Regions from separate parts of the Homo sapiens genome. Here region 1 is linked to region 2. Evidence: promoter capture Hi-C in human tissues and cell types (Jung and others, 2019). All regions are on one chromosome and are shown on one strand. Each heading gives the region's core, a stretch centred on a gene start or on the middle of the fragment in contact. The rest is flanking DNA. Distances are from core to core; before and after follow the strand shown.

Region 1 (5,766 bases), core at 1,141-3,640, 260 kb before region 2:
ACAGAGTGAGACTCTGTCTCAAAAAACAAACAAACACACAAACAATGCTGCAGTAAACATGTCAGTGTAAATGCCAGCTATCTTTCTGATAGAACGATTTATTTTCCTTTGGTTGTATACCCAGTAATGGGATTGCTGGGTCAAATGGTACTTTGATTTTTAGTTCTTCGAGAAATTTCCAAAACTGCTTTCCACAGGAGCTGAACTAATTTCCATTCTCATCAACACTGTTTAAGCATTCCCTTTTCTCCACAACCTTGCCAACATCTGTTCTTTTTTGACTTTTTTTTTTTTTTTTTTTTTTTTTTTTTTTTTTTTTGAGACGGAGTCTCATTCTGTTGCCCAGGCTGGAGTGCAGTGGCGCGATCTTGGCTCACTGCAACTCCCGCCTCCCAGGTTCACGCCATTCTCCTGCCTCAGCCTCCCGAGTAGCTGGGACTACAGGCGCCCACCACCACGCCCGGCTAATTTTTTAAAATATTTTTAGTGGAGACGGGGTTTCACCGTGTTAGACAGGATGGTCTCGATCTCCTGACCTCATGATCTGCCTGCCTCGGCCTCCCAAAGTGCTGGGATTAAAGGCATGAGTCACAGCGCCCGGCCTTGACTTTTTATTAATAGTCATTCTGACTCAGTTGTGAGATGGTATCTCATTGTGGTTTTGATTTGCATTTCTCTGATGATTAGTGATGTTCGGCATTTTTTCATGTTCGTTGGCTGCTTCTTCGTGTCCTTTGCCTACTTTTTAATGGGGCTATTTGCTTTTTTCTTGTTGATTTGTTTAAGTTCTTTTCTGGATATTAGTCCTTTGTCAGATGCATAATTTGCAAATGTTTTCTCCCATTCTGTAGTTTGTCCATCTGCTTCGTTGATAGCTTATTTTGCTGTGCTGAAGCTCTTTAATTAGGTCCCAACTGTCAGTTTTTCTTTTTGTTGCATTTGATTTTGGGGACTTAATCATAAATTATTTGCCTAGGCAATGTCCAGAAGAGTATTTTCTAGCTTTTCTTCTAGGATTTATATAGTTTCAGGCCTTACATTTAAGCCTTTAATCCATCTTGAGTTTGTTTTTGTATATGGTGAGAGGTAGACGTCTGGTTTCCTATTTGGATGCCTTTTATTTCTTTCTCTTGCCTGATTGCTCAGGCTAGGACTTGCCGCATACTGATTGCTGTGGCTCAGTACCATGCTGAATAGGAGTTGTTAAGAGTGGACACCCTGTTTTTTTCCAGTTCTTAGGCGGAATGCTTCCAACTTTTGCCCGTTCAGTATGATATTGACGGCTGGGTGCAGTGGTTCACACCTGTAATCCCAAGACTTTGGAAGGCCGAGGCAGGAGGATTGCATGAGCCTAGGAGTTCAAGACCAGCCTGGGCAGCATAGTGAAACCTTGTCTCTACTAAAAATAAAAAAAATTAGCCACACATAGTGGCATGCACCTGTAGTCCCAGCTTACTTGGGAGGCTGATGCAGGAGGATCACTTGAGCCTGGGTGATACAGGCTTCGGTGAGTTATGGTTGCACCACTGCACTCCAGCCTGGGCAATGGAATAAGACCTTGTCTCAAAAAAAAAAAAAAAAAAAAAAAAAAAAAAGATATTGTCATAGGTGGCTCTTATTATTTTGAAGTATGTTCCTTTGATGCTTAGTTTATTGAGGGTTTTTTATAATGAAGGGATGTTGGATTTTATTGAATGCTTTATGCTGATTGATTCTGAACATTGATAAAGAGGTATATATATATATCTTTAAATGATTTGTTCAGACTTTAATGGAAAGTACTAGTAAGAATAGCATGTAGAATTTCCAAATCACCCCATGTGGAGTGGGGAAATAGAGGAACAAGGAAAACTTCATCAATTGAGCAAAAATTGTTTTAAAAAATAAGAAAACACGGGCCGGGCACGGTGGCTCACGCCTGTAATCCCAGCACTTTGGGAGGCCGAGGCACGTGGATCACGAGGTCAGGAATCGAGACCATCCTGGCTAACATGGTGAAACCCCATCTCTACTAAAAATACAAAAAATTAGCTGGGCATGGTGGCGGGCGCCTGTAGTCCCAGCTACTTGGGAGGCAGGAGAATGGCGTGAACCCGGGAGGTGGAGGTTGTAGTGAGCCGAGATCACACCACTGCACTCCAGCCTGGGCAACAGAGCGAGACTCCATCTCAAAAAAAAAAAGAAAACACTGTGTAGAAAACCAAAGACAAGAATAAAACCACTCATATCAGTGATTACAAAAAATATGAATGGGATAAAGTCACCTATTAAAGGCAAAAGGTCTCATAAAGTGAGAACAACAACAGTATCTAGCTATGTGTTCTTTATAAATGAAACACTAAAATCAAAAAGGTACCAAAAATTGAAAATAGAGGAAAGATTACGTCTGCCCATATTGAGATCTGATGGAGCTGTGAGACTTTACATTTTTGTTTTTCATATGCTTTTGAAGTATTTATGAATGTCCTGGGATATAAGTCTAGGAATAGGAGCAAATTCTTGAAACCATTTTATTATATGTTTTCACAAAATAATGTAATATGGTACTTGGTCTAAAGTGGCCAGTGTTTATTCTTTCAAATATTTTGGATTTATATAATTTCTTTCTTCCAAAAAGTTATCTTCAAGTCTTCAGGTAGAATAAAATCATAGTAGAAAATAAGTCTTTCTGGCCAGCCATGGTGGCTCACGCTTGTAATCCCAACACTTCGGGAAGCCAAGGTGGGAGGGTTGCTTGAGGCCAGGAGTACAAGACCAGCCTGGCAACATGGTGAGACCCCATTCTTAACAACAACAACAACAAAATAGCCAGGCGTGGTGGTGTGTGCCTGTAGTCCCAGCTACTAGGGAGGCTGAGGAAGGAGAGTAGCTTGAGTCCAGGAGTGTGAGGCTGCAGTGAGCCATGATCACACCACTGCACTCCAGGCTGGGCAACAAAGTGAGACCCCCAACTCAAAACAAAAACAATAAAGAGGCCGGGCACGGTGGCTCACACCTGTAATCCCAGCACTCTGGGAGGCCAAGGCTGGAGGATCACTTGAGGTCGGGAGTTCAAGACCAGCCTGGCCAACATGGCGAAACCCCATCTCTACTAAAAACACAAAAATTAGCTGGGCATGGTGGTGCGGGCCTGTAGTCCCAGCTACTTGGGAGTCTGAGGCACAAGAAGTCCTTGAACTCGGGAGGCAGATGGTTGCAGTAAGTGAAGGTTGTAGTGAGGCAAGATCACGCCACTACACTCCAGCCTGGGCAACAGAACGAGACTCTGTCTCAAAAAAAGAAAGAAAACAGTCTTTTGTTGCTGCTGCTGCTGTTGTTGTTGTTACAAAAAAAAAAAAAATTCCAGCCAATTGGCCATTTATTTTAGAATAGTATTAAAAAACAAAGTTTCCATATCAATATAAAATTTGTATAGCTTCCTAGAATTTATTAAAATAGGAATACTAATAGATTCAAAAAGGAAAATTTGTATAAATTAGTGAAAATTACCACCCTGTCCTTAATGCCCTATTTTAAGATTAGTCATTAAATAAATATTTACTTGCTGGCCCTGAACTCTGTGCTGGGTACTGTGAGGCACAAAAGAAGTACAAGATACTGCCTTTGCCTACTAAGAATTTTATTCATACTTTGACAGCTTTCTGTGTTGAACCAGTAAATGTTTTCTTACACAGAGCTCTAAAACATGTTTAATCTGGTATAATTTACCACTAGGCACAGGAAAATAATTATAGCTAACATTCCTTTAGTTTGTCTCTGTATATCCACACTTAACAACAGCATTTTCACATGATAGACACCCTGACATATGAATGAATGAATGAATGAATATCAGGTGCTAGATTAAAAGCTCTAATTCAGTATCTAATTTAATCCTCTCAACAATTATCATTTAGCTAGTGTATTATCCACATTCTATCAGTGAAGAAACTGAGCTTCAGATCACTTTAATTACCTTGCCCAAAGTCATAATTGAAGTGGCAGAATGGGACTGGAATCCAGGTCTAACTCAAGTGCTATAGTGGTGTGAAGGGAAGACTGGTAAGGGTTGGTGTTCATGGAGAATTTGTTGCTGGGTGTATACTTCTTGTTTAGATTTCCTGTTTTGAAAACATTCAAACTTGATCAACCAAAAGAAATCATTTGCATAAATGTTATTCAGTTCCAGGAGCCAGGTTCCACGCCTGTTAGCATCTGTCCGTCAGTTCTGTAAGCAATCTTACAGTGGTGTGTGTTCATCCTAAGTAGTACAAAACAGTGCAGAGGAGGAAGGCGGACAGCTTAGGGGAAATCTGACCACCATGCGTGTTGGAAGTATTTCTCTTGTTCTCCTGCTTTTAGAAAGCCATCTCTGCTTGCTTTTTCAGGGGGTTATTAAGATCCTACTCTCTTGGATACTGTGCTCTATTAGGCAGGAGACACAGGCAGAAAGAAGCTCACTTGGCATGAATTAGGCAACAGAGAAAACTCTTGCTCAGTGGGAGTAACCTGTCACAACCTGGTTTTCTCTGGCCAGATAACCAGTCTTGTCGAGTAGTAATGCCATTACAACATTCCCATTCAGATCCTCATGACCCAGTAATTGTTTTGAGAATGAGTGCAAAGCTATCAGACACCAACTACTATAATTAGAAAAGGGAAAAATAGACACTTACCAGAGCTAATGTCTTTAGGCTGGAGCATTTACAGCTTTTTGTTTTTTGTTTTTTAAGTTATGGAGCCTCTTTCTCAGTTTTGCTTCCTAAAATACAAATTGCATGGTTTAGGGGTTCTTGCATTTCATTTTTGTTACTGCTGTGCACTCTCTTTCCTTTTTTCCCCCCTATTTTAATCGGAGTACAAATTGCTGTCAGCACATCGAGTTCATGTGCCAGCCACATTCAGAACAGGGTGTTCTGTGCTCTTCAAAACAAAATTGCTCTAGGGCAGTAAGAGAACAATAAGTCAGAGCTCCAGTTTAAGTGATGTTTTGCAGCTCGCTTGATGTGGTTACACTCCGATTGCGCAGCTAAGCTTGGGTAATTTGGTTTGGTTTGACTTTGTGGGGATTTGGAGGACCTCCCTCCCCCTTTAAGTTACATAGTCTTTAAGTCAAGAAAAAAATGTTGTCTCTTTTTAACTTGTTTATTTCTTTCTCTACCAAAAAAGCCCTAAGTAGAAGCATCCTGTATGTACTTTTATTCTCTTTGGGCATGTCATAGATGATTTACTTCCCGTAAATCATGCTGGTTGGGATTAGCAACAGACCTCCTGAGCCCTACAGGCTGCACTCCCAGTGAGTCACGATGGTTATTATTAAATATTTATTAAGTTAGTATTTGCACTAAAAGATGCCAGGTCAAAAAGCAACCACAGGGCTTCCACAGCCAGAGCTGCCATGGTTTTTGTTCTGTTTTGTTTTGGTAGGAATTTTTAAGATAACATTAAAAAGAATAAGTGGAGCTATAGGAGCTAGGCTCATCTGCATCTGTTACTGCAATCAGGGCCCCTACTGTGGCAATCAGCAGTCTTTCCGTGGCTCCAAGTGGTGTGTGAGTTCTTGTCAGCAGTCTCGTAGAACTTTTCACATCAGTGTTCCAAGTTTAGAAACCAGTTAACCCAGCAATGCCCTTTGCTACTTGTAGATGTAGAGAATCAATGGGCTGTATTCACCATGAGGCTGTGATACCTCCTTTTACTCTGACATTCCGAATGTTGTCAGTATTACAAGGCGATGGTTTTGGTTTTTTATATAAACTGGGGTGTATATGTCTGGATGTATATCCG
Region 2 (5,229 bases), core at 2,730-5,229:
CTCACCCTGGCTCCAACGGCAGAGAAAAATGTGCATGGACACCAAACCATCTCCAAGAAGCAGCCATTAGGTAATCTGGGACATGGCATTGACAATGGCACCGGGCACAGGGCTTCTGACATCATATAAGCAAGGGCCTGGCAGAACGGACAAAGCCCACAGAGACCTGGGTAGGGAGGAAGAGAATGTTTCCAGTGTGGGCAATGCTGAGCAGTAAAGCTGTGTCCTGCAATTTCCAAGCCCTTCAGAGGCACTGGAGCAAGGCACCACTGTTCAGCTTCCCAGCCTGCAGAGAGCACTCAGGGAGGTGGGCCTCAGGGACAGGATATAGCTGAAGCCCTTAGAAGTGACAGGTCCAGGCTGGTTGTGGTGGCTCACGCCTGTAATCCCAGCACTTTGGGAGGCTGAGGCGGGCAGATCACGAGGTCAGGAAATCGAGACCATCTCGACTAACACGGTGAAACCCTGTCTCTACTAAAACTACAAAAAAAAATGAGCCAGGCGTGGTGGCGGGCGCCTGTAGTCCCAGCTACTCAGGAGGCTGAGGCAGAAGAATGGCGTGAACCTGGGAGATGGAGCTTGCAGTGAGCCAAGATCGCACCACTGCACTCCAGCCTGGGCGACAGAGCGAGACTCCATCTCAAAAAAAAAAAAAAAAAAAACGAAAAAAAAGTGACAGGTCCAACTCCTGAGAGAGAGGAGCTGCACTATCCCAGGATGTGCCAGAATCTGCAGGCCCTGAAGACAGCTTGCACAACAGTCAGGACAGCTGTAGGCCCAAAGCAGAGGCCTAATGGCTTCCCAGGCTAGTGCTCTACACTGTCTATCCTCTTACCAGGCCCTAAGGGAAGGCGTCTAAGGGACCACAGGTCGGGTTGAAAGGCTGAGTAGGAGCAATTCTTCCTGAATGGGTTAAGGCATATATCACACAAGAAGGCCATGGTGAAGAGGCAAGGAGAAAGGCACCTGAACGAGCAGTCAGTGTAATCTCAGTGCTCTGAGAGGCCAAGGTGAGGAGGACTGCTTGAGGCCAGGAGTTCGAGACATTGTGAGAGCCTGTCTTTACAAAAAAATTGTTTTTTAATTAGCTGAGTGTGGTGGTGTGCACCTGTAGTCCCCGCTACTCTGGAGGCTGAAGCAGGAAGATCCCTTGAGCCCAGGAGTTCGAGGTTACAGTGCACTATGATAGCACCACTGCACTCCAGCCTGGGCAATAGAACAAAACCTTGTGTCAGAAAAGAAAGAAGGAAAGAAAATCCAGACCCAGACTCTGCAAAAATCACTGAATGGGGAAGGAATTTGGTAATTGACAATCATGACTACCTTCTCAGAAAATGAGAGTGGACAAACTGCAAGAAGCTATCCATCTAGGGCTGCTGGTGCCCAAGCTGCTCCACAAGGACTGGCCTTGACCTGTTCTCAAATCTCTCACCTGCCACCACAGCAGAGAGCACTACTAAGGGGTAAGCACGGCCAGAAGTAACAAACTGCTCAAAAGAGTAAGGAGGAGTCCTTGAAAGCCAGAGACTAGACTAAAAATCTGTCCAACACTTGACCTCTACCTCTTTAGAATGATCCACTAAAACCCTGGAGAGATGCTATTCACAGGAACAAGGAAAACCCTCTGGTCCAGTCTACCCAAATCTTTGCAAGTGCTGCAAAGGGGGTCTGGGGGTCAGTGGAGAAGGGACTGGCTCAACAACAGGCCATCCACAATCCTATTGCTTTCACAGAAAACAGTGTACAAGAGGATTACAAAACTTTAAAGTCTGGTCAAGCTGGTTCCTTTGGCTCTCCACCGCAGCTCCTAAAGGTTGCCAACTCCCATGTCCAATCTGGCTCAAAGACAGCACAATCATCAAAAGAGGAGCCCCTAGAAACCTGGGGCCAGGTGAAACAATGAGCCTTCATTTCTAAACATGAGAGTGGGTCACGCTTTCAGAATCCTCCAAGATCAGACTGGGTAGAAACAAAGGATATGTTATTTCTTGAATACTTCTTTAGAGAACCAACGCCAAATAAAGGAGCTCAAACTGAAGGATATGACGAGAATCTTCTGCTTGGTAAGGTTAAACATCCAGACACACATGGAAGGTGGTGGGCTCTCAAGCCCCAGAGAAGATGATCTATGTGACTGGAAGCAGATGTGTCTGCTCAAGTTCCTGACAAGGTCTAACTACTGCAGCCCCACAGCCCACCAGGGTAGTTATCAATCTGATACCTCATACTATGCCTGGGCAAAGGGAACAGAGCTCTGGGATTGCCGTTCCTCCTGGATACAGAGGAAATTAAGCTCCCAGGGAAAAAGAGGGACAATTTGGATTCCCTAGATTCAGAAAAGAACAAAGAAAAAAGAGGGAGAAGAGACTCCAAGAGAACATGTTCAGTGACCAACATCAGAGGCACATTCAGTTGGCCAAAGATTGTCAAAGAGATATGAGAGAAAATCAGCAGCTGTTTCAAGCCACCAATAATAAAAGGGGACAGATGCCCGCCAGCCCCAGGGCTATCAGGCCAGCAATCTATTTCAAAACTCAAACGGGAAAAAAAAAAGTTCTGGAGCCAGTACACAGAAAAAAGGTTGAGGACCACAAGTATTTTCTGGAGCACAGCTTCTGGAGAATTCTCTTAGTCCTTTCGGATGGAGCACAGGGTGGAGGGTGGGAGTGAGGGCAGAGAGAGGCTGGGGTATCATGGTATAAGTGTATTCCACACATCCAGAGTGGAAAGACACAAAACCCCGGTTCCTGGAAGGGGAAAAGAATTGGACAAAGCCTCCGGCTACCCGTGGCACACATCCAGCTCAGCGCCGTCTCCCCCAAGGGTTCCTGGAAGTCAACAGCCCCATAAAGGGGAAGTATTAAAGCTGAGATAAGAAGAATGGCCTACAAATTGGACATCATCTCTGATGCAACACCCACGTACATTCTCCCACACAATCTGTTATTTCCTTTAGTCAATCAGCCTCTTAATTCGATCAAGGTCTGAACACCTCCACCCCCACCCCATGGTTATGTCAACTGCAGGTCAAGTGAAAGTAGAGTAGAGTGTGGAGCTAAGGCTTCTCCCTGAAGCAGGGGAAAGGAACAGGGAGAGAAAAGGAGGTGGGCGACAGGAATGTAGGGGACAGAATTGATACGAAGGAAATCGGAAAAAGGAGCAAAAACAGGGCCTCTCAGGGAACCAAGGTGAGAGTCTTAGGGAGACAGGGACTGCAGGCACGGAGTTGGAAAAAGCCTAGGAACACCCTGGGGAAGAGGATGGGGACCCATAATACTAGGAGGGATCAGACCACAGATAAGAAGGGGACAGGGATGGGGAGAGAGAGTAAAGCCTGAGAGAGCAAGGATGGGAGGATGAAGGCAGGAGACAAGGATAACGAGGGGGACAGAGGAAAAGATCCCAGAGAAGACTCTCGCTAGATAGGGCAGTGGATTCAGGAACACCAGAAACGGGTGAAGGAAGAGGTCAGAGGCAGGGGAGGGGAATGGGAGAGGCCCCCGGGCCTGAGACGGGGTTCTCACAAGTGGGAGAAGACGAAGCCACCAGGCCCAAGAGGGGGCAAAGAGTAGGGTGGAAGGAGGCCCGTATTTCGGACTCACTCAAGCAGCTATGGGGGTCCAAGGGCGGGGGGGCGCAGGGTCAGCGGGGCGCCTACATGGCAACGCACGACGGCTGACCGGAGCGGGCCGGAGCATCAGGAAGCCGCCGTGACGCTGTCCGCGGACCCCGGCAGCTCCCCGCACCCCGTTCCCCGCCGCCGGGCCTTGCGCCCCAGTCCCGCTGGCCGCCTCGGCCCAGGCCCGGCGCTTCCCTCCGCCACTTGCCTGACCGCTTCTCTCGTCTCGGACTGACCTGTCCCGGCTGCCTACGGCGCCACCGCCGCCGTCCCGCAGGCTCCGCAGAATTCTCCCGCTCCTGCCAAAACTTTTCCCATTAATCCCCAGGTCCGCGGCGGCCGCAGCGTCACACGCTCCGCGGCCCGGCCCCGCCCCCGCCAGCGAGACGTCACCGCGCTGCTCGGCCTTTCCCTCCCCACGCCCCCTTCCGCCCGGCGGCGGCCAATCACCACGCCTCCTGGAGACTCCCCTAATTCTGCCTCTCCGCCCACCGCACGCTGCCCCGGGCCAGCCTGTGGCGCCCTCTGGTGCGGGATGCGGACGTAGCAGCTAAGGGAGGAGCAGGGGAGCGCCAGGTCCAGTAGAACAAGTCCAGCAAGTGACACAAGAGGGAATTTAAAGCTGGAAGGGAATTTCTAGGTCATCTAGTGCAACCTCCTCATCTTCCAGTGAAGAAACTTAGTCCTAGAAAAGGTACGTGACTTGCAGTGACAAGTCTGGAGAGACTCTTAACCCAGTGCTAGGTCCACTGGAGGAGATCATATCGCCTATAATTTTCAAAAAAGGGCTTTCCGCCTTCAAGAGGCTTCTACAACTGGAAATTTACGGTCTTAGAGTTCTTAACCTTTCTTCCCATGTGCTTATGCAATACGCTTATTCACCTAAAATAGGGGACATCCTCCTTATTGTTGTAGAAAATTCTGTTCTTATTAATCCACATCTTTAAGACCTGGAAGGGACCTATTATCCCAACCTACCGCTTAAGATGTACCACAGGAAACTACCTAGCAGCTGGGAGGCAATCTGGTGGAAGAAGTTGGCTTTCATCTGACGATGAACAAAGCTTGACTCTCAGGTATATGACCAATGCCTCCCCTCCATCATCATTAAAGATGACCCCTCCCCTCTCCTTCGGCCACACCTTCCGTAGGCCGCAAGCTCCTTAGGCCACACCTAGCTATCTGGATGAGTGATTTTTTTTTTTTTTTTTTTTTTTGAGACACAGTTTCACTCTGTCGCCCCTGCTGGAGTGCAGTTGCGCAATCTCAGCCCGCTGCAACCTCCGCCTCCCGGGTTCAAGCGATTATCCTGCCTCAACCTCCCAAGTAGCTGGGATTACAGGCATGCGCCACACGCCCAGCTAATTATTGTAATTTTAGTAGAGACAGGGTTTTGCCATGTTGCCCAGGCTGGTCTTGAACTCCTGGACTCAAGTTATCCTCCCACCTTAGCCTCCCAAAGTGCTGGAATTACAGGCGTGAGCCACCGTGCCTGGCAGGGATGAGTGATTTTTTCCCCCTTCTTTCTGCTTCTCTTTTTCTTTTTCTTTTTTTTCCCCTACTTTTTGAAATGCTTGTGCATTATATTTGTAACTTAGATGTCAACCTCC

The links. The method cuts DNA at HindIII sites, captures the fragments that hold promoters and counts their contacts. A contact is called where the count stands out against the background at its distance.
Region 1: a fragment that was not itself captured here is called in contact with the fragment with the promoter of PPARD in region 2 in 1 of the 25 tissues and cell types used here (liver).

The regions. Positions count from the first base shown.
Region 1 is chr6:35,601,213-35,606,978 of GRCh38, reverse strand. All of the region lies in intron 5 of FKBP5 (FKBP prolyl isomerase 5), which reads left to right. Among named protein-coding and RNA genes, the nearest start is that of LINC03135, 60 kb to the right of the region's middle. RefSeq lists a silencer at 4,313-4,607 and an enhancer at 5,282-5,766. The HindIII fragment of the contact is 9,658 bases long and covers 1-5,766 here.
Region 2 is chr6:35,341,308-35,346,536 of GRCh38, reverse strand. It overlaps PPARD (peroxisome proliferator activated receptor delta), which reads right to left and starts at 3,979. Exons shown (of 8, transcript NM_006238.5): 1 at 3,856-3,979. RefSeq lists silencers at 3,518-3,567, 3,598-3,737, 3,918-4,127. The HindIII fragment of the contact is 18,171 bases long and covers 1-5,229 here.